Regions from separate parts of the Homo sapiens genome. Here regions 1, 2, 3, 4, 6 and 7 are each linked to region 5. Evidence: promoter capture Hi-C in 16 types of primary human blood cells and fetal thymus (Javierre and others, 2016). All regions are on one chromosome and are shown on one strand. Each heading gives the region's core, a stretch centred on a gene start or on the middle of the fragment in contact. The rest is flanking DNA. Distances are from core to core; before and after follow the strand shown. Region 1 has its middle 7.9 kb from the start of SUCLG1. Region 2 overlaps TGOLN2 (trans-golgi network protein 2). Region 3 has its middle 28 kb from the start of DNAH6. Region 4 overlaps SUCLG1 (succinate-CoA ligase GDP/ADP-forming subunit alpha). Region 5 holds the start of TMSB10 (thymosin beta 10). Region 6 has its middle 3.4 kb from the start of DNAH6. Region 7 overlaps TCF7L1 (transcription factor 7 like 1).

Region 1 (2,700 bases), core at 1-2,500, 440 kb after region 5:
GCATAAGAAATTCTAAAAGGGCTTTATTAAAGAGTGCTATGGTTAAAATCAGTTTAGTTAAAAACAGATATTCAAGCTCTAACAGCCTGGACTCCTTGGGGTAAACAGGAGGCACCACAGACCCTTTCCTGGCCCTGTTCTTCCAAGGGCTCCACCCTAAAGCTAGTAATCCAATTAAGAAACTTAAAAACCGGCAAATGAAAAATCTTACAACTACTGTAGTAATCTTCTTCTGTCTTTGTGTGTAGCTATATATGTGTTGTGTGTAATGTTTATATAAAAAAACTCTAATTAATTGCCTTAAATAAAAATAAGCACTTAAATCAAATATTTTGAAAGTTAAATAAAAACTAACGCTTTTTACTTCAGGTAACTTTAGTAATCTTTGGGAAATAAAAACAGCTTTAAAAACTATTGATAAAATAAAAACATTTAGTCTAAATTATGTAGGTCAGATATTAAGTTTGCTAAATGCTTTAAGGTCATATAAACCACCTCTTTAACTTTTAAAAAGTGTTCAATTTATTAAAAATTATTGATAAAAGAAAAACATTTAGTCTAAATTATGCAGGTCAGATTAAGTTTGCTAAATGCTTTAAGGTCATAAACCACCTCTTTAACTTTTAAAAATTGTTCAATTTACCTACCTTAAAGCCATTAGATTCTAGATAAGGCCTGGGGACATGTGGAATTAGCCATGTCCCCTAGCTACACAAAGATTATAAATAGAGAGATTTTATATAAGAAAGGATCTCATATGTTAAATTCTTGTCCTAAAGTAAAATGACTGGTTGTTTAAAAGGAGGGATGTTTAGGGCAAGTCAGAAAGTCCAAGAATGTCTCAGATGGTCTGTGTAAGCCATGAAAGGGTTTATGCAAGAAATGTTGTACAATTCAAAGGTTGTTAGACCTCCTAAATGCCTCATAAAATGCCACTATGACTCTCACTCTACAACTTGCTTGCTTAAGTAAGGTACGGCCTTGGGACATGTGGAGTTAGCCTCCTAGCTATGCTGGAGTCAGCTCTTATCTGCACTTCTGCCTGTTGTCTCCTAGGCTAGGCTCCACACCTGGCACATAATTAAAATCTTGAACTTGTCAAGGTTTTCATCAAAAATAAAAGTTGCTAAGCGTTAACACTGTAACATGTAATTGAGACTCTTGAAGAAACAGTTTTATATGCAAGATGTGTAAGAAAAGTAAAATGTGTTTATGGTAAAAAAAAGATTGTAAGAAGGCATGGGAATGTGGATTTTTCTTGCCTAGATTAAAGGATTAAAGGATTGTTTTAAGTTAGGATAAATCTGAAGGTTTAAGCAAGTTGTAAAAGTTTTGTGAAACATTAATTGTAAAAGAGATTCTGCGTGAACACACTGGCTAAAGTTAAAGGGGTATTCAGTTTTTCTGTAAACTGAACATTGGAATAAATGCAAACCAGGTTTTTCTTAGAGCAAAAACCTGCTTATGATCTGCTCTTTAACAAAAATTTGTAAAAACGGTGTTTGGTTTTCTTTGGGCTGTATTTCTATAAATGTGTTATTGGTATATGTGTTCCAAAACTATGGGAAACTCCTATAATTTTGATATGACTTAGTGTACATTATCAGTAATGATTATAATTGTTGTTTTGAATTATTGTATGCCACAGAGGTAACCAAATTTCTTTGTCAATCATGTTTTTAACTGTGGCTATCCTAAGACGTTTTGTCATCCACAAATGATTGTTACCTTGTTTTAATCCTCTTTAGAAGTTGGTTTATAATCAATTATAGAACTCTAACTGGTATTCTTAAATGCAGGTTTTCTGATAAGTGGAGACTGTGACATCAGAATAGAGGAAAACATTTTCAGAACTCTCATAGAGAGCTATAATGTTCATAACTATTAAACAGAAGTTAACTACATGAACTAAGCTGAAGAAGCCTAATCTTTTTAACTTTGCTTAAAATATTGCTGATCCTTTGTTTTGTTTTTCAGAATCGAGGAAACTTTTTTTTGAGCTATTTACAGGTTTTAGCAATTGAGTAGAGTAAGCTACTGTGAACAAAATTTGCAGCATATTTGTTTCTCTCTACCTGATTTCTCCAAAATTTGGAAACTGAGAGTATTCTTAATTTATAGCAATATAGTTATTTGCATAAGTGCAATAAGAATCTGTTTTCTTTTGTAACAGGACACAATTGGAGAAATTGATTATTTTACCAAGGCTTTGACTGGAATGGTGTGCTTTCCTTTAAGGAATCAAACTTGACTTGTAGAGCCAATAAAAGCCCTTTGGGGAACTGGCCTCATACCTTGCCTACACAATCCCTGTACAGGGTTTCTGGCCTGTAAGTAAAGAAGTTAAGTAAATAACGGTAGGTAAAGAATGCCACGTTCTCACAGGTCCAGGAGCCCCAGGTTACCTTGGGACCTCAAAAGGAGAGAAATTTACCCAACTCATAGGTATTTGAGGATAAAAACCTATGGCAGGGCTCGGCTTTAAAAAAGTCTTATCTGAGATTGTTCTATGGAAGAGAGTTCCATCAAAGCCAACTTAAAAAGAGCTTACATGAAAAATAATTATTCTTGCTGTACTTTATACAAATAATCAGGCCAAGTATAATAAAACAAATTGGTCTTATCATGCTTTGTCTTTAGTAAAAATTGGAATTATTAGATTCTAGTCTTATCAATTGTTTTTAAGTTTGTCTTTGCAAT
Region 2 (2,833 bases), core at 27-2,526, 420 kb before region 5:
TGAACGTCGCAGCGGCGGGTAAGACCCTCCATCCCGCATCCCACTCTTGCCCCCAGATCCCCCATTCTCACCTGGGCAGGTCACCTCTAGGCTCGCTTCTTCCCTACCCGACCCACCTCTCCGCTCGCCATCGTCTCCCGCCCCACCCCCCAATCCCCATTCCCCCGCTGCTCCCGATCTCTTCCAGTTCTGAGGAGTTCCTTCTTCCCGCCTGCCCTTCTCCGGTGCTAACTCGTTTTTCTATTTCAGGAGCCGTGCCGCTCTTGGCCACCGAAAGCGTCAAGCAAGAAGAAGCTGGAGTACGGCCTTCTGCAGGAAACGTCTCCACCCACCCCAGCTTGAGCCAACGGCCTGGAGGCTCTACCAAGTCGCATCCGGAGCCGCAGACTCCAAAAGACAGCCCTAGCAAGTCGAGTGCGGAGGCGCAGACCCCAGAAGACACCCCCAACAAGTCGGGTGCGGAGGCAAAGACCCAAAAAGACAGCTCCAACAAGTCGGGTGCGGAGGCAAAGACCCAAAAAGGCAGCACTAGCAAGTCGGGTTCGGAGGCGCAGACCACAAAAGACAGCACTAGTAAGTCGCATCCGGAGCTGCAGACTCCAAAAGACAGCACTGGCAAATCGGGTGCGGAGGCGCAGACCCCAGAAGACAGCCCCAACAGGTCGGGTGCGGAGGCAAAGACCCAAAAAGACAGCCCTAGCAAGTCAGGTTCGGAGGCGCAGACCACAAAAGATGTCCCTAATAAGTCGGGTGCGGACGGCCAGACCCCAAAAGACGGCTCCAGCAAGTCGGGTGCGGAGGATCAGACCCCAAAAGACGTCCCTAACAAGTCGGGTGCGGAGAAGCAGACTCCAAAAGACGGCTCTAACAAGTCCGGTGCAGAGGAGCAGGGCCCAATAGACGGGCCCAGCAAGTCGGGTGCGGAGGAGCAGACCTCAAAAGACAGCCCTAACAAGGTGGTTCCAGAGCAGCCTTCCCGGAAAGACCATTCCAAGCCCATCTCCAACCCTTCTGATAACAAGGAGCTCCCCAAGGCTGACACAAACCAGCTTGCTGACAAAGGGAAGCTTTCTCCTCATGCTTTCAAAACCGAATCTGGGGAGGAAACTGACCTCATTTCTCCCCCGCAGGAGGAAGTTAAGTCTTCAGAGCCTACTGAGGATGTGGAGCCCAAAGAGGCTGAAGATGATGATACAGGACCCGAGGAGGGCTCACCGCCCAAAGAAGAGAAAGAAAAGATGTCCGGTTCTGCCTCCAGTGAGAACCGTGAAGGGACACTTTCGGATTCCACGGGTAGCGAGAAGGATGACCTTTATCCGAACGGTTCTGGAAATGGCAGCGCGGAGAGCAGCCACTTCTTTGCATATCTGGTGACTGCAGCCATTCTTGTGGCTGTCCTCTATATCGCTCATCACAACAAGCGGAAGGTAAGTCGACAGCGGCCTTCCGGAGGGGAGTGGGGTTTCCAGCACCCTGGAAGCTTGGGTGTGGGTGGGTATCCCGTCACTAGATGCCCGTGAGCACTGGGGACTTTAAAACAAACTTCAGTTTTTTCCTCAGGCCCTATTAGGCCTCTTTACTCTTGTTTTGTTAATCGTGTTTTCATCCTGTCACCTGTTTACTCTGAGTGTCCTCTGCTACTGCATTAGGAGCCAAGTTAGGACATTATTAGGATCTGACCTGACTTGGAATCTCCTCCCATAACTTTGCACTTAGGTCCTTCACAGCCTCAGAGGACCTGAGTACTTGACAGTTAAAGCACGTACCTTCCATCCTATTTCCCTTCTTGAGACGATATGTCATTTCTAGCTTCCTTTCCCAACATTCTCTCTTCCATCAGCAGTGGCACAAAGAATGGTTTCAATTACTGCGTCTTCGATACCAGGACCAAAGAGCCCAGGGACTTCTGCAATTAATAATAATTAGAAGAAAGCCCAGAAATTGCACAGACACGTACACCTGTTACTTTTTCATCAGGGTTTGGTCTGTTTATTAGCAACCACTCTAATGACAAAATGATTGCATTTCATATTGAGCCCCCAACATTTAGAAGCTAGTTTCTGTAACCTGCTTAAAATTGGAGAGTCCAATTCTGGCCATAAGGCCTATGGCTATAAAGAATAAAGGGGAAGACCTTTAGTAAAAATGTGCATTCCTGGCCCGGTGCAGTGGCTCCTGCCTCTAATCCCAGCACTTTGGGAGGCCGAGGCAGGAGGATCGCTTGAGCCCAGGAGTCCGAGACCAGCCTGGCCAACATAGCAAGACCTCGTCTCTACATATAATAAAAAAATTAGCCAGATGTGGTGGTGGACGTGTGTGGTCCCAGCTACTCAGGAGGCTGAAGTGGGAGGATGGCTTGACTGTGGGAGGTCGAGGCTTCAGTGAGCCATGATCACGCCATTGCACTCCAGCCCGGGTGACAGAGTGAGACCTTGCCTCTAAGAAAAAAAAAAAGTGTATTTCTTATTCTATGTCCAAGTGTCCATTATGCAGGGTAACCTTAGTCATGAAATGAGATTGATAAAGAATGTAGTTGATGTAGCATCGTGGGGTGAAAAAGTACATTTGTAGATAGGAAATTCTGATTATGACTTTTTTTAAAGGAATGTCCTATATCCTAGATATCTCTAGGAAGGAGTTGATAGATCTTTGACTGTGTACCTTTGAATAAATCAAACAGACTTCCTCCCACACGCTAGAGCTCAGACAGCCTTCTATTTGTTATTTCCTATTAAGCAATACAAAGGATTCTGATGTAATTAGGCTCTGTCTTTCTTAAAATGGTTATAGTTTAAATAGACCTCTGTGAGTGTACTGCTCTTTCTACAGTCAG
Region 3 (2,700 bases), core at 74-2,573, 420 kb after region 5:
AAGAAAAGAAAGAAGAAAGAAAAGAAAGAGTCAGAAAGAAAGAAAACCAAGCGTTAAGACTTTCTGGAAGAAGTTCAGCAATAACATGAAAGTAGAACACTAAAGACATATCCTATTTCTGTGGAAAACAATATGTGGTAGATACAAACATTTCTGCTGCTGCTTCAGGCCAAAAAGTCCAAGTATTAAAAAAATGTAAAAAACTGAAAAAATGCTTTGTTCTGGGATTCACAGTGTATGGTGGGGGTATTGGTCTTCACTGGGGCCTGAGGGACACAAGATTCAGAAACATCAACAGTGGTGTCATTTCAAGCATCTGTTGATAGTGAGTCTCTATGTTAGTGGTTCTCAAAGTGTGTTCCCTGGGCAGCAGTATCAGCATTACCTGGGAACTCGTTAGAAATGAAAATTTTGCAGCCCCATCTCAGAACTACTGAATCAGAAACTCTGGGGATGAGGTCTAACAACCCATTTTTTAACAAGTCTTCTGGGTGATTCTGAGGCATGCTAAGTTTGAGAACACTGCTCTAGATTAAACAAATATAGGTCAAGGAGTGAACTGTGGGTCTAACCAATTCAGAGTGAATTCTAGCAAGTTCACAGACCATATTCTCTAATCAGCCTTAAGAATAAGGAGGTGCAAGGCAGAGCTAATTTTATAGAGCTTCTTTAAGAGAAAGAAAGAAGAATAGAGAAAGAAAGAAAAAAAGGAAAGAGAAAGAATACATTTGTAGAAACCTGTGAGTATGTGAAGATATCGCTTGGGGCCTTTGGAAGGCCTTGGAAGGAACTTGTCCAAGCAAGGATCCTAAAGCCTAAGCTCCATTCAATACTTACTAAACCTGCATCTGTAGGTTTAGGTTTATCATATCATAAAAGATATGATACATATCTTTTAACTTCAAAAGTATATCATATATAAGGAATGAATTTTTTTCAGCATCACTCTGACTCCTATGTCTTTCTCAAGAAATAATGATGCCTCCCTGATTCAACAATTGAAGAATACATAATTTTCTAGTGGGAATGGGAATTACAATGTGCCCCAGGTAGCAATTATTCAATTAGATGTTGACCCTAAAGACACTCTCATGTTCTCTACCAATAACTTCCAGAAAGTAAAAAAGAAATTTAAAAGATAAAAAAGAAAGCAAAAAAGAAACTCTTACATATGCACACTGTTGAAGTTATAGGGAGGCCAATAACATACCCCACTTTTCCCTGAATGATTTCAGACCTATTTGAGAAATAGACACAGGAGCTAAGTAAATAATCTATATCATCTTTATCATTGATAAAGCTATTATGAGGGAGAGAGCTTATGGTGAGGGCTTATCTGTGCTCCCTGCCACTCATCATCTACATTCCCACCTCCAATCTATACCTAGAGGTAGCTCACCCCAAATAAAGTTTGGATCAGACGTAATGGCCCTACATCACTAATTTAATGCCTGCTATGGTAGACAGAATAATAGCTCCTAAAGATGTTTAGGTCCTCATCCTGGAATGTGTAAATGTGTAAATATGTCTCCTTACATGGCAAAAGGGACTTTCCAGATGTGATTAAAGTAAGGATCTTGAAATGGGGAGATTATCCTGGATTATTCAGGCGGGCCCAATGTAATCATAAGGGTCTACATAAGAGGGAGGAGGCAGGAAGATCAAATTAAAAAAAGAAGTGACGGCGGAAGTAGAGGTTGGAGTGGTATACTTTAAAGCTGAAAGAAGCGGCCAGGAGCCAAGGAATGTGGGTGGCCTCTAGAAATTGGAAAAAATAAAGATTCACTCCTAGAGCCTCCAGAAGGGATGCATCACTGCCAATACTTTAATTTAGATTTAACTTAATTTTAGATTTCTTTTTTTTAATTTTTTTAATTTTTTTATTTTTTTATTTTTTAATTTTTTTTATTATACTTTAAGTTTTAGGGTACATGTGCACATTGTGCAGGTTAGTTACATATGTATACATGTGCCATGCTGGTGCACTGCACCCACTAACTTTTAGATTTCTGACCTCCAGAACAGTAAGAGAATAAATTTGTGTTGTTTTAAACAACATTACCTTTGTGGTAATTTGTTACTCCCACTGTAGAAAACTAACATACCTACCTAGTATTCCCATCGTTGGGCATCTAGACCAGTTCTTATTTTCCCTTGCACATCTTTGTAAGCATGGATGAATTATTTTCTTAGGATGTTTTTTTAATGCCTAAAAACAGAGTACTCAATTTATATTCCTCAAACTGAGTACAAAAGTAGACTGGAATCCTAAGAGTGTGTCAGTTGACAAGACAGGATCTCTTTTAAAAGACAGCTTTGACATGTACAAATATCCCACTGTGTCAGGATGTCCTAGATTAGGTTGTTTGTCCCCAGGAATGTACTTTTCTCTCTACACAGTTATCCCCATAGACAGGGACTTGGTACCAGGTCCAAAGAGTATAATCAGCAATTCAGTAACAGGTTTTAAGTGCTGACCTCAGGTCTCCCGCTGACCTGGAAAGGGGCCTGCCCTTGCTCTCTGGCTTCTTCCACCAGTGGGCCCAAATATTTGTGAAATTCAAGCTGTGCTTCATTACGGGCAGACTTTAGGCCCCTATTCACAGGCAGCATTATTTGGCAAGTGTCTACAAGGGCTGCTCAAGATTTAACCACAAATCTTTCCTATATTGTCTATGACTTTAATACAAGAGATAAGTT
Region 4 (2,705 bases), core at 198-2,697, 460 kb after region 5:
GCAAGGGCAATAACCCGTCAAGAGTTGAAGTGACTTAGACCAAGGTGATAGCAGTAGAAGGGGGAGGAGTTGTCAATTATACTTTGAAGATAGAGAAATAAGCTCTACTAATGGATCTAATATGGGACATATGAGAAAGAGAATAATCAAGGATGGCTTCAGTATTTTTGGTCTGATTATCTGTAAGGCGTGAAGTTGTCTTTAACTGAGATGGGGTAGATGGAGGGGAGTGATTGGGAACTCAGTTTTGGACATGTTGAGTTTGAGATGCCTGCTAGTTCTCAAAGTGGAGGTGTCAGGTAGGCAGTTGACAATGTGAATATGGAGTTCAAGGCTTAGATATGTGGGGTGTATGTGTCTTTGTGTATGTGGGAGGGGTCACCATATGGATGATATGTATTGCCATGATAAGGGATGACATCACCAAGGGCATGAATTTAGATGAAAAAGAGAAGTCTAAGGTGTTGCGGGAAGTCAGGAACCCTGAACGGAGGGACCGGCTGAAGCCACGGCAGAAGAACATAAATTGTGAAGATTTCATAGACATTTATTAGTTCCCCAAATTAATACTTTTATAATTTCTTACGCCTGTCTTTACTGCAATCTCTGAACATAAATTGTGATGATTTCATGGACACTTATCACTTCCCCAATCAATATCCTTGTGATTTCCTATGCCTGTCTTTACTTTAATCTCTTAGTCCCATCATCTTTGTGAGCTGAGGAGGATGTATGTCGCCTCAGGACCCTGTGATGATTGCATTAACTGCACAAATTGTTTGTAGAGCATGTGTGTTTGAACAATATGAAATCTGGGCACCATGAAAAAGGAACAGGATAACAGCAATGTTCAGGGAACAAGAGAGATAACCTTAAACTCTGACCACCGGTGAGCCGGGCGGAACAGAGCCATATTTTTTCAAAAGCAAATGGGAGAAATATCTCTGAATTCTTTTTCTCAGCAAGGAACATCCCTGAGAAAGAGAATGCATCCCTGAGGGTAGGCCTCTAAAATGGCCACTTCGGGGGGCGGCCATCTTTTGTGGTTGCAGCTGTAGGGATGAAATAAGCCCCAGTCTCCCGTAGTGCTCCCAGGCTTATTAGGATGAGAAAATTCCCGCCTAATAATTTTTGGTCAGACCGGTTGTCTGCTCTCAAAGCCTGTCTCCTGATAAGATATTATCAATGCAATGCGTGCTGGAAACTTCATTAGCAATTTTAATTTCGCCCCGGTCCTGTGGTCCTGTGGTCCTGTGATCTCACCCTGCCTCCATTTGCCTTGTGATATTCTATTACCTTGTGAAGCACATGATCTCTGTGACCCACACCCTATTTGTACACTCCCTCCCCTTTTGAAAATCACTAATAAAAACTTGCTGGTTTTACGGCTTAGGGGGCATCATGGAACCTGCCGACATGTGATGTCTTCCCCGGACACCCAGCTTTAAAATTTCTCTCTTTTGTACTCTGTCCCTTTATTTCTCAGACCAGCTGACACTTAGGGAATATGGAAAAGAACCTAAGTGAAATATCGGGGGTGAATTTTGCCCAATATCTGGCTGAATTTCCCCCAATACTAAGGAGAGAGAAAGAGAAGAGGAAAACCAGGGGAAGTCAAGCCCCAGAAGCCTAGTGAAAATGAATCAGTCCTTGGAGCTGTTTTTGGTTGTCATTAACTGGATGGAATTATGAGAGTTAGGAGGGTGTGCTACTGGCATCTAATGAGTGGAGCCCATGGATGCTGCTAAATGTCCCACTAGGCACTGGATGACCTCTCATAAGAAAGAATCATCCTGTCCAAAATGTCAATAATGCTGAGGTTGAGGAGGAAAAGTGAATGGATAGAGAAATACAGGTTGGTGGGTGGGCAGTATTGAAGGCTTACTTAAGGTGAGTGATCATTAATTTAAAATGAGACCAGTTGACATGTTTTTTTGTTTTTTTTTCCCTTAGCCACTTTTTGGCTGCACATGTATAGGCTTAGAAGTAGGGGAAAAATTGGATTTGACCCAGGTTGTGGTTTTGCCAGATATTTAAGTTGAAGTGAGAGAAAGCCAAGATTGTTGTGGGAGGGTAATGATCTACCATGAATTTTAAACTGAGGAGTGTGAGCACATGAGGAGTTGAGAAACAGGGAGTTTCTGGTTATCAGCCAAGTTTGAAAACAGGGAATCAAAGAGGCCTTGTTTATAGCTATTTTGGCTTTTCAGAGGCTTGTTTTGCTTCAAGATTCAAAGCTATGTTTAGTAAATATATGTTATTGTCTGGGAATAGTTAACCTATTTGTTTTTCTTTTCCTAAGTTGCTAAGATTGCTTTTGCTTCTCTTGGGCTTACCAGTCTGCTGTTTCTCATGGATCTTGTGCTTTTTCCCCTCAGGGCACCTTTCACAGCCAGCAGGCATTGGAATATGGCACCAAACTCGTTGGAGGAACCACTCCAGGGAAAGGAGGCCAGACACATCTGGGCTTACCTGTCTTTAATACTGTGAAGGAGGTAATTAGTGGTACCTGAGTTTGGCAAGACAAGAAAAGCAAGGGAAGAGCGAGCATTCTTTGGGTAGAGATCTTAATTATGTTTTTTTGGTAGAGTCACTTGCTATTTGAAAATTCAGTAACCTAGAGAAATTTGAATTGCCATCAAAACCAGTGTGTTATTTTTGTTTCTAGGTATGAATCAGCTATTAAGGGAGGAAGTACTGTGGCC
Region 5 (2,700 bases), core at 135-2,634:
TTTTCTTTCTTTAAAATCAGTGTTCCCTTCTGAGTCAGCTAGGAGGAGGCCAGAGGGAAACAGTGGGGCTTTCGAAGCTTATCAAAAGCAAACCTTGCTCTTTTGAAAAAGCATTTTCCAACGCAACCTGGGGACAAAGTGGGGTTAAATTTTACACAGATTGCTTACGAGCAAGAGTTAAGTGGCTAACAAGTCATGAAATCTTACGGAGAAGCAGGTAAAGCCAAAATTAAAAACTCCCTCCGAGTCAGCCCATTCTGCGACCCACCTCCTCCCCTTTGCGGCAGGAACTCTACTCCATCGAGGGGCTTTGCTGCAGTGGCACTGCCCACGCATACTCAACTAAAAGACTCAGACCACGCCAGCCATGCCACGAGGTGTGTTTTATTTTCATTATTCATACAAATAATTTTCTATAATATCCCGGGGCAAACCGGAGAATTTGGCAGTCCGATTGGGGGGGGGTCCCTTCAGAGACCCACAGGCCGGTGGCATCGGCGCGGAGTGCCCAGGTTCACAGTGCAGCTTGTGGCTCGTGTCCATCTTGCAGGTGGCTCTTCCTCCACATCACGACTGGGGTCTCGAAGAGGACGGGGGTAGGAAATCCTCCAGGATCTTAGGAAATTTCACTCCGCTTCTCCTGCTCAATGGCTGTGGAGAGCGGGAAGCGGGCGCTGGAGGGGAGCTGCAACCCCCACCCGCAACCGAGGTGCTTCCCGGTGTGGGCGAGGCACCCACGAGGTGTGGGGATTTAGAAGGAAGCTTGGGGCTGGGGAGAAACAAGGCGCTTTGTGAAACTGAAAGAGTGGCCGGGGCCGCCCACACCGGGGACAACGGCGGGGTGGGGGGTGGAGGAGTGGGTTTGCAAGGAAGAGCAGGGTGAGGGGCTGGGCTGGGGCGCGGGAGACCGAGGCACACTCACTCTCTTTGGTCGGCAGGGTGTTCTTCTCCTGCGTCTCCGTTTTCTTCAGCTTGGCCTTATCGAAGCTGGCGATTTCCCCCATGTCTGGTTTGTCTGCCATTTTCTTAAAACAATCCTAGTGGGCAAACCAAGGCGCTTGACCTGGGCCTGGGGGCCAGCGTCCCCTTCCGCGCTCCCCGCCGACGCCTCTCGACGTGGCACTCGCGCCAAGGCGTGCCGAGCAGCCCCAAGGCCGAGGATCTGGGCGCGTCCCGCACCCCTCTTCTCGGTCCCAGGGCGTGGTCGCCGGCCCCTGCGTCCGGTCCGAGAAGGGCGCCTGTCGCGGTTGCGGCGCGCCCGCCCGGTGCACCGGATCCGACCACACCCTGGGTGGGCCCCCCGCCCCGGCGCCGCACTCACCGTGCAGTCTCGTTCCGAGCCCGAGATCCTGGTGCTCCCACTCGCGTTGCTGCAGCAAGAAACAAAAGAGCGGCGCCCGCCCCTAGCCTTATATACGCCGCGCCCCGCCCCGCCCCTCACCCGCCGCAGCAGGGGCGGTGCTGGCACCCGAGGGGCGGGAGCAGCGCGGGCTGCTCCTCGCCCTGCCGCGCCCCCCGCTGGGCTACCAGCCCGGCTGGGCGCGGCTTCTCCCGCGCCGGGCACCCCCAGCTCGCAGTGTGCCCAGCGTGGGGGCTGTAGTCGCCGCCAGAGTGGGCGCCAGGCCCCCGGCTTTGCTTTTGCGGCTACATTTCCCCCTTTCCGGGAATCTGCTGCTCACCCCGCAGAAAGGATATGGGACCGGCGTGGGAGGGTGTGTGGTTTTGTGCGTGTGCAGATATGATGTGTAGCCGTGGGTGTGGATGTGCGGGCGTGCACGCGCACTCTGCAGCAATCCTCGCTCTAGGAGACGCCCCACCCCAGTCGCCCCCAGGCCTCTTGCTTTTGCTCCTCCAGAGTCCCCTTCCCTCCCCCACTTTTCCTCTCCTTAGGGAGGCTGAGTCCTAAGGTGGTCCTGCACTAAAAGAATTCGAGCCGAGGGTCCCGTAGTGGAGCGGGGGGCGGGGGGGTGTAGGGGGAGGGGGGAATAGGTTTCCAGCGCTCTTTGCTCAGGTTGGGGGCGGTTGCCTTCTGGTCAGTCGTCCCCTGTTCCCTGAACTGGGCGGTTCCAGCAGGATCGTTGGCGTGGCGGGTGTTCCTTAAATGCTGTTAGACGCATTGTGTGAAGGGCTGTGGTGGGAACAGGGCGTCCCGAGAAGGCTCGCAGTTTGCCTTTTCTCGTCGAGCTCCTAGAAACACTGTATCAGCGGGTGCGGTTTTCCTCCTTGAAGTTAACCTTGAGGATAATAGAGACCCACATGCCTACAAACGTTCTTGTTTTTCTTATTAACCCATTGTAGGAGTGGTATACTGCAATTATTCACATCTTTCTTAGAAAAGTTGTATTTTCAGCCTGTGCAACACCGTTAGGTAATAAGTTCCATAAATTACCAGCCCCGGAGTTAAGGCTGGTCATTCTTTTATTTGTCCTGACCTTTCCTTTTTTAAGTGTGAAGTATTACCGAGCTCTTTAAAGTGGGATTTGGTGGTGACATCCTAAATTCGGTCCTGATTTTATTTATTTACTTTTTTTGAGACAGGGTCTCACTCTGTCACCCAGGCTGGAGTGCAGTGGTGTGATCACGGCTTATGGCAGCCTGGACTTCCCCGGTTCAAGTGATTCTTCCACCTCAGCCTCCTGAGCAGTTGGGACTGCGGGCGTGCACCACCACTAGCGGCAAATCTTTTGTGTTCTTTTTGTA
Region 6 (2,704 bases), core at 189-2,688, 390 kb after region 5:
CCATTTGTGATGGGTGCTATTCCACTAATCATTGCAATAACCTTATGTTAGAGGTATTATTATACCTATTCCACAGATAGGAAATTGAGGCTTAAAGAGGTTGTGTGACTTTCCCAAGTCACTTCAGAGGTAGTAAGTGGCAGAGCTGAGATACAAATCCAGATCCATCAACTTAAATTTCTATATGAATTTGAGCCCAAGATTATTGAATCATAGAATTCTGCTTCTGGATATATAGTGGAGTATAGCAGGGCTCACAGAAATAAGGGAATCCTCAAGTGTCAAAATAATAATCAGATGAAACCAGAGCAATAAATAACATGGAAGCTGTGGGTGCTGTGGGTACAAATGCCTATACAAAGAACATATAGCTTCAGGGATTAATGCTGAGGAGAAATGGAAGACTAGGCCTTGCTTGAGTCTACACAAAATGGAAGAGCAAACTACAGTTGCCACACACATCTGAGACTGTTGGAAGAATTATCCCCTCAGTAATAGGTTGGACTAGGAAAAAACTGGCAGTGACAAAAACCTACAGGAAAACCAGCATATTTCTACCTGTAGATCCAGGTGGGAAAAAATTGTTAAAAATATAATAGTCTCCCCCAGGAATTTAGGAGTATAGACAAAACTAGTTCTGGGTTTTTCATTTACACTACCTATGTGGTCTGGGGAAAAAAATGCAAGCTACTAGGAAATACCCATGAAGAGAAAGGCATCATCAACTCTGAGTCCTTAGAATTCTCACAAGTTAGTTTCAGCCAAATATAAATTTACAATTAAAAAAAACCCAAGCATACAAGAAAACAAGCCACTCCAAACAAGAGTTAGCAGAATAAACAAGACTTAAAAGGCAAACACATTATATATTAGAACTCTTAAATATAGAATACATAAAATATTTATGAAATGTTCAAGGATAATGACAATATAAAATTTAAAAGTAATTATGGGAATAACATTAGCAAAAATGGTAGAGTAAGGAACTCTAAAAGTCCATCCTTCCACAAAAGTTGTAAGACTTCAGTGACTTTAGAGATTTCAGTAACCACATGTGACAAAGCATACAGTCTTTAAATAATAGTTTACAAAAGTCAGCAACAAACAAATACAACCTACAACAGGCAGAAACAACAAATTCTTAGAAGGCAGGAGAATCTGATTTCCCGAGTTACCATATTATAATATTCAACATATCCAATATCCAATTTTCAACCAAAAGTATGAGACATGCAAACAAAGAAAGTATGGTCCACTTACAGGAAGAAAAACTTAATTAATTATAAATTAAGATGTTAATTGTAATCACAGGGCAACCACTAAGAAAATAACTAAAAAAAAATAGATAAAAAGTGAACCAAAATGGTACACTTAAAAAAATCTACCTCATACAAAAGAAGGCAATAGTGAAAGAATTGAAAAATAACATATAGAAAACAAATACAAAATGTCAAAAGTAAGTCCTTCCTCATCAGTAATTACATTAAATGGAAATTGATTAAACCTATCAGTTAAAAGGCAGAATGAATAAAAAACATGACTCAAATACACATTGTCTATAAGAGACATACTTTAGATTCAAAAACAGGATAGGTTAAAATAAAGGAAAAAAGATATTTCATGCATACTGTAAGCAAAAGAAAGTGGCAGTGGCTATGCTAATATTAAACAAAATAGACTTTAAGACAAAAATTGTGATGAGAGATAAAGGTTATGAAAAGAGTCAATCCATCAAGAAGCTAGAACAATTAAAACATATGTTCACCTAAAAACACAGTCCCAAAACATATGAAGTAATAACCAACAGAATCGAAGGGAGAAATAGACAATTCAACAACAGCAGTTGAAGATTCTAGCTTTCAGTAATGATAGAAAAACCATTGCTATGGTTTGAATGTGTCCCCTGAAGTTCATATGTTGGAAAATTAATCCTCAATGCAACAGTGTTGAGAGGTGGGGCCTAATAAGAGGTGATTAGGTCAAAATGGAGACGTAATGCAGAGACCTCATGAATGGATTCATGTCGTTTTCTTGGGAGTAGGGTAGTTATTGAGAAGGCTTGTTATAAAAGTGAGTTGGACCCTCTCTTGTTCTCTCATATATTCTCTTGCCCTTCCATCTTCCATCATGGGGGAATGCAACATGAGGTCCCTTACCAGATGCCACTGGCCTCTCAACTTTGGACTTCCCAGCCTCCAGAACTGTAAGAAATAACTCTTTGTTCTTTATGAATTATCCAGCCTGTGTTATGTATTCCATTATAGTCACACCAAATTGACTAAGGGACTATAGAAAAGATTAATAAGGAAATAGAATAATTGAGAAACACTATAAAACAAACACGCCTGAAAAACATCTATAAAATGTCCCACCCCCCAAAAAAACAGAAAACACTTTCTTTTCAAGGGCACATGAAACATTCTCTGGGAAAGACCATGTGTTAGGTCACAAAACAAGTCTCAATACATTTTAAAATTCTGCAATCATACAAAATATCTTTTCTGACCACATGAAATAAAATCAGAAATACTAGCAAACTGAATCCAGCAGTATATTCAAAGGATTATACACCATGGGTAAGTATGATTCATCACAGGAATGTAAAAGTATTTCAACATAAAAAAATCATAAATGTAATACATCATATTAACAGAAGAAGAGGGAAAAAAGACAGCATGATCAACTCAATATATGCAGGAAAAAG
Region 7 (2,700 bases), core at 150-2,649, 400 kb before region 5:
GACAAGTTTGGAGACAGAAAGTAGATTAGTGGTTGCCTAGGGCTGGGGGAGATGGGCAAAATGTGGAGTGATTTTCAAAGGATATGGGGCTTCCTTTGGGACTGACAAAAACTTTCTAAAATTGACTGGTGATAGGTGCACAACTCTGAACATACAGCCAATGAATTGTCTACTTTTTTTTCTTTTCTGAGATGAAGTTTTGCTCTGTTGCCCAGGCTGGAGTGCAATGGCGCTGTCTCGGCTCACTGCAACCTCCACCTCCCGGGTTTAAGCGATTCTCCTGTCTCAGCCTCCCAAGTAGCTGGGATTACAGGTGCGCACCATCATGCCTGGCTAATTTTTGTATTTTTAGTAGAGACGGGGTTTCGCCATGTTGGCCAGGCTGGTCTCGAACTCCTGACCTCAGGTGATCCACCCGCCTCGGCCTCCCAAAGTGCTAGGATTACAGGTGTGAGCCATCGCACCCAGCCTGAATTGTATACCTTTTTTGTTTGAGGCAGAGTCTTACTCTGTTGAGAAGGCTGGAATGCAGTGGCACAATCATAACTCACTGCAGTCTTGAGCTCCTGAGCTCAAGCAATCCTCCTGCCTCAGCCTCCTGAGAAGCTGGGACTACAGGCTTGTGTGCCACCATCCCCAGCTAGTTGCTTTTTTTTTTTTTTTTAAAGAGATCAGGTCTTGCTATGTTGCCCAGGCTAGTCCTGAACTCCTGGCCTCAAGTCATCTTCCTGCCTCAGCCTCTCAAAGCATTGGGATTATAGGCAAGAGCGGCTCTGCCCAGCTGAACTGTATACTTTAAATGGGTGAAGTGTAACTTTAAATGGCTGAAGTATATCTCCATAAAGCTGTTACAAAAAATTAATTGTGGTGCTAGATACTATGGAAAGTATCCAAAAGATGCTTCCTCACATCTTGGCAATTACGAGTCAAATGGGTGATAGAAGCATAAGCTGAATGTCATTCCAGGCGGCAAATTCATTTAAATCAGCTGTGAAAATGATTACCCCCTTTGCAGCTCAGTCATGGACACTGACTGGCCCATGCACATTTGAGACAGGAAGCTGGGTTCAGGTTTTCTAAGGGTGTCAGGCATGCCTAACATTCCCCTGTGGCAAGTGGCAATCTTCCTTTGCATATCTGCGAAAGTCTAACACAGGGTTTGGGAGTGAAACAAACAGGTGGTTTGATTCAACAAAAGCACTAAAGAAACACTCAGAAAAGGTCTTGCAACTGCAATTTTATTTTCTTTTGTGAAAATAAACAACTGGGAGTTTAAATTGCTCCAAAAACCATAAAAACAAAAAGAAATACACACAGAAGAAGCATGTGAGGTGATGGGGAAGGGAACAGGGTCTCTAGAACTTTGGCAGATTGTGCTGGCACGGACCCAGGTGACAGGAGCCAGACCATGGGGCCGGTCCCGCCTGCCACTCTGGGATTGTGAAGGGATGATCGCCACTGGCAAGGACGGGGAGGAACACAGACTTCTTCGCTGAGGAAGTGGCAGGCACCTTGAGTCCCTTTAAATGCGGGGGTTGGGAGGAAACCATTTCAGAGGACCGCTTTCTCCACTGAAAGCTGGGGCTGGCGAGTTCGGGCCCACTGAGGGAGGGGACGCTGGTGGCAGCAAATCAGGCCAAGATGTCTTCTCACATGGTGATGGCCTCACACTGGGCAGAGGACAGAGGACGAAGAAGAACCCACGGTATTGAGCAGACGATGAAAACTTGGGCTGGGTAACAGGAAATGTCACAATGGCAGAGCTGCAGATGGAGTCGGGGAAGCTGGGGCAGGCGGCAGGGGCGAGAAGAGACAGGAGACAGAAAGTGCAAGAGAGGTAAGAGAGAGAAGTGCCCTCTGCCCAGGTCCATCCACCACAGCACCTACAGGACGAATAGCACGCTACTTTTCAGTTCTCTTTCTTATAAAGATTTTTTTTTGTTGTTTTGTTTTGTTTTTTAAAAAAGCCTTAAGATCAGCTACTGGTTACATCTACAAACTGTAAAGTGCTGTTGTTACCAGCCACTTTACAGAACAGTCCAGAGTGGTCAAATATTGACCAATAAAGTCTCCTTTTTCTTTTTCTTCTGAATCATTACTACTCAATGAGTCATGTGACAGCCTGCAGGGGTCGGGGGGAGCTTAGTGGGCAGACTTGGTGACCAGGGAAAGAGGCTGGGCCTGTAGCACCGGGAGGGCCTGGTGGGCATGGAGCGTGGCGGGGAAGGACGGGGGAGAGGCCAGCAGAGCTGTGGGCATGGACCCAAGGGGGAGGGGCCGGGACAGGAGGGGAGGCTGGCTGCCCATCTGCCCAGAGGAGGAGGCTGCAGCCTTAGCCGACAGGAAGGCGGCAGAGTGGAGAGCCAGCTGGGCCCGGGTTTCTGGTTTGGTGGTGAGGGAGAGGGGCTGGGCTTGCTCCGAATGGGTGGCAGCAGGGGCAGCTGGTGAGGCCAAAGCTGCAGAGGGAGTGGCCGGGGAGTCCAGCATGCTCCCGTGGGAGGAGGCAGGGCTGTCACAGGGCTTCTCGGGGGGCAGGTACTGAACACATGGCTTCTTGCTCTTGGAGGCCAGGGCACCTAGGGGGAAAATACAAGAAAGAGTGAGCAGCTATAGCTCTGTGAGAGGAGGAGGCTGAGGAACAGCCCTGGCGATACATGTGCTTTGGAGACACAGGGATGATTTTGGCGAGGACCTGACATT

Evidence for each region. Contacts are between HindIII fragments. The CHiCAGO score rates a contact against its expected background, and 5 or more counts as called.
Region 1: a fragment that was not itself captured here is called in contact with the fragment with the promoter of TMSB10 in region 5 in 5 of 17 cell types (M2 macrophages, total B cells, non-activated CD4 T cells and 2 more); the score reaches 6.7 in M2 macrophages.
Region 2: a fragment that was not itself captured here is called in contact with the fragment with the promoter of TMSB10 in region 5 in 4 of 17 cell types (M0 macrophages, fetal thymus, total B cells and 1 more); the score reaches 9.1 in M0 macrophages.
Region 3: a contact is called between a fragment that was not itself captured here and the fragment with the promoter of TMSB10 in region 5, in 8 of 17 cell types (non-activated CD4 T cells, naive CD8 T cells, naive B cells and 5 more). The highest score is 11.4, in non-activated CD4 T cells.
Region 4: a contact is called between a fragment that was not itself captured here and the fragment with the promoter of TMSB10 in region 5, in 1 of 17 cell types (M1 macrophages). The highest score is 5.9, in M1 macrophages.
Region 6: a contact is called between a fragment that was not itself captured here and the fragment with the promoter of TMSB10 in region 5, in 8 of 17 cell types (naive CD4 T cells, non-activated CD4 T cells, naive CD8 T cells and 5 more). The highest score is 11.7, in naive CD4 T cells.
Region 7: a contact is called between a fragment that was not itself captured here and the fragment with the promoter of TMSB10 in region 5, in 1 of 17 cell types (M0 macrophages). The highest score is 5.8, in M0 macrophages.

The regions. Positions count from the first base shown.
Region 1 is chr2:84,465,808-84,468,507 of GRCh38, reverse strand. It overlaps a transcript of DNAH6 not described here. Among named protein-coding and RNA genes, the nearest start is that of SUCLG1, 7.9 kb to the right of the region's middle. The HindIII fragment of the contact is 3,272 bases long and covers 1-2,700 here.
Region 2 is chr2:85,325,102-85,327,934 of GRCh38, reverse strand. TGOLN2 (trans-golgi network protein 2) reads left to right here. Exons shown (of 4, transcript NM_006464.4): 1 at 1-18; 2 at 250-1,427. Among named protein-coding and RNA genes, the nearest start is that of TGOLN2, 1.5 kb to the left of the region's middle. RefSeq lists enhancers at 754-933, 1,174-1,343. The HindIII fragment of the contact is 413 bases long and covers 1,070-1,482 here.
Region 3 is chr2:84,487,584-84,490,283 of GRCh38, reverse strand. It overlaps a transcript of DNAH6 not described here. Among named protein-coding and RNA genes, the nearest start is that of DNAH6, 28 kb to the left of the region's middle. The HindIII fragment of the contact is 5,264 bases long and covers 1-2,700 here.
Region 4 is chr2:84,443,074-84,445,778 of GRCh38, reverse strand. SUCLG1 (succinate-CoA ligase GDP/ADP-forming subunit alpha) reads left to right here. Exons shown (of 9, transcript NM_003849.4): 3 at 2,379-2,495. Among named protein-coding and RNA genes, the nearest start is that of SUCLG1, 15 kb to the left of the region's middle. The HindIII fragment of the contact is 5,313 bases long and covers 1-2,705 here.
Region 5 is chr2:84,904,340-84,907,039 of GRCh38, reverse strand. It overlaps TMSB10 (thymosin beta 10), which reads right to left and starts at 1,384. Exons shown (of 3, transcript NM_021103.4): 1 at 1,322-1,384; 2 at 923-1,037; 3 at 369-651. The coding sequence starts at 1,022. The coding sequence ends at 617. LOC105374836 (a long non-coding RNA gene) reads left to right here and starts at 19. Exons shown (of 2, transcript XR_940308.3): 1 at 19-377. RefSeq lists enhancers at 58-117, 1-1,121 and a silencer at 1,088-1,627. The HindIII fragment of the contact is 2,703 bases long and covers 765-2,700 here.
Region 6 is chr2:84,511,749-84,514,452 of GRCh38, reverse strand. It overlaps a transcript of DNAH6 not described here. Among named protein-coding and RNA genes, the nearest start is that of DNAH6, 3.4 kb to the left of the region's middle. The HindIII fragment of the contact is 3,512 bases long and covers 1-2,704 here.
Region 7 is chr2:85,308,905-85,311,604 of GRCh38, reverse strand. TCF7L1 (transcription factor 7 like 1) reads right to left here. Exons shown (of 12, transcript NM_031283.3): 12 at 1,218-2,576. The coding sequence ends at 2,143. Among named protein-coding and RNA genes, the nearest start is that of TGOLN2, 18 kb to the left of the region's middle. RefSeq lists an enhancer at 1,086-1,969. The HindIII fragment of the contact is 9,071 bases long and covers 1-2,700 here.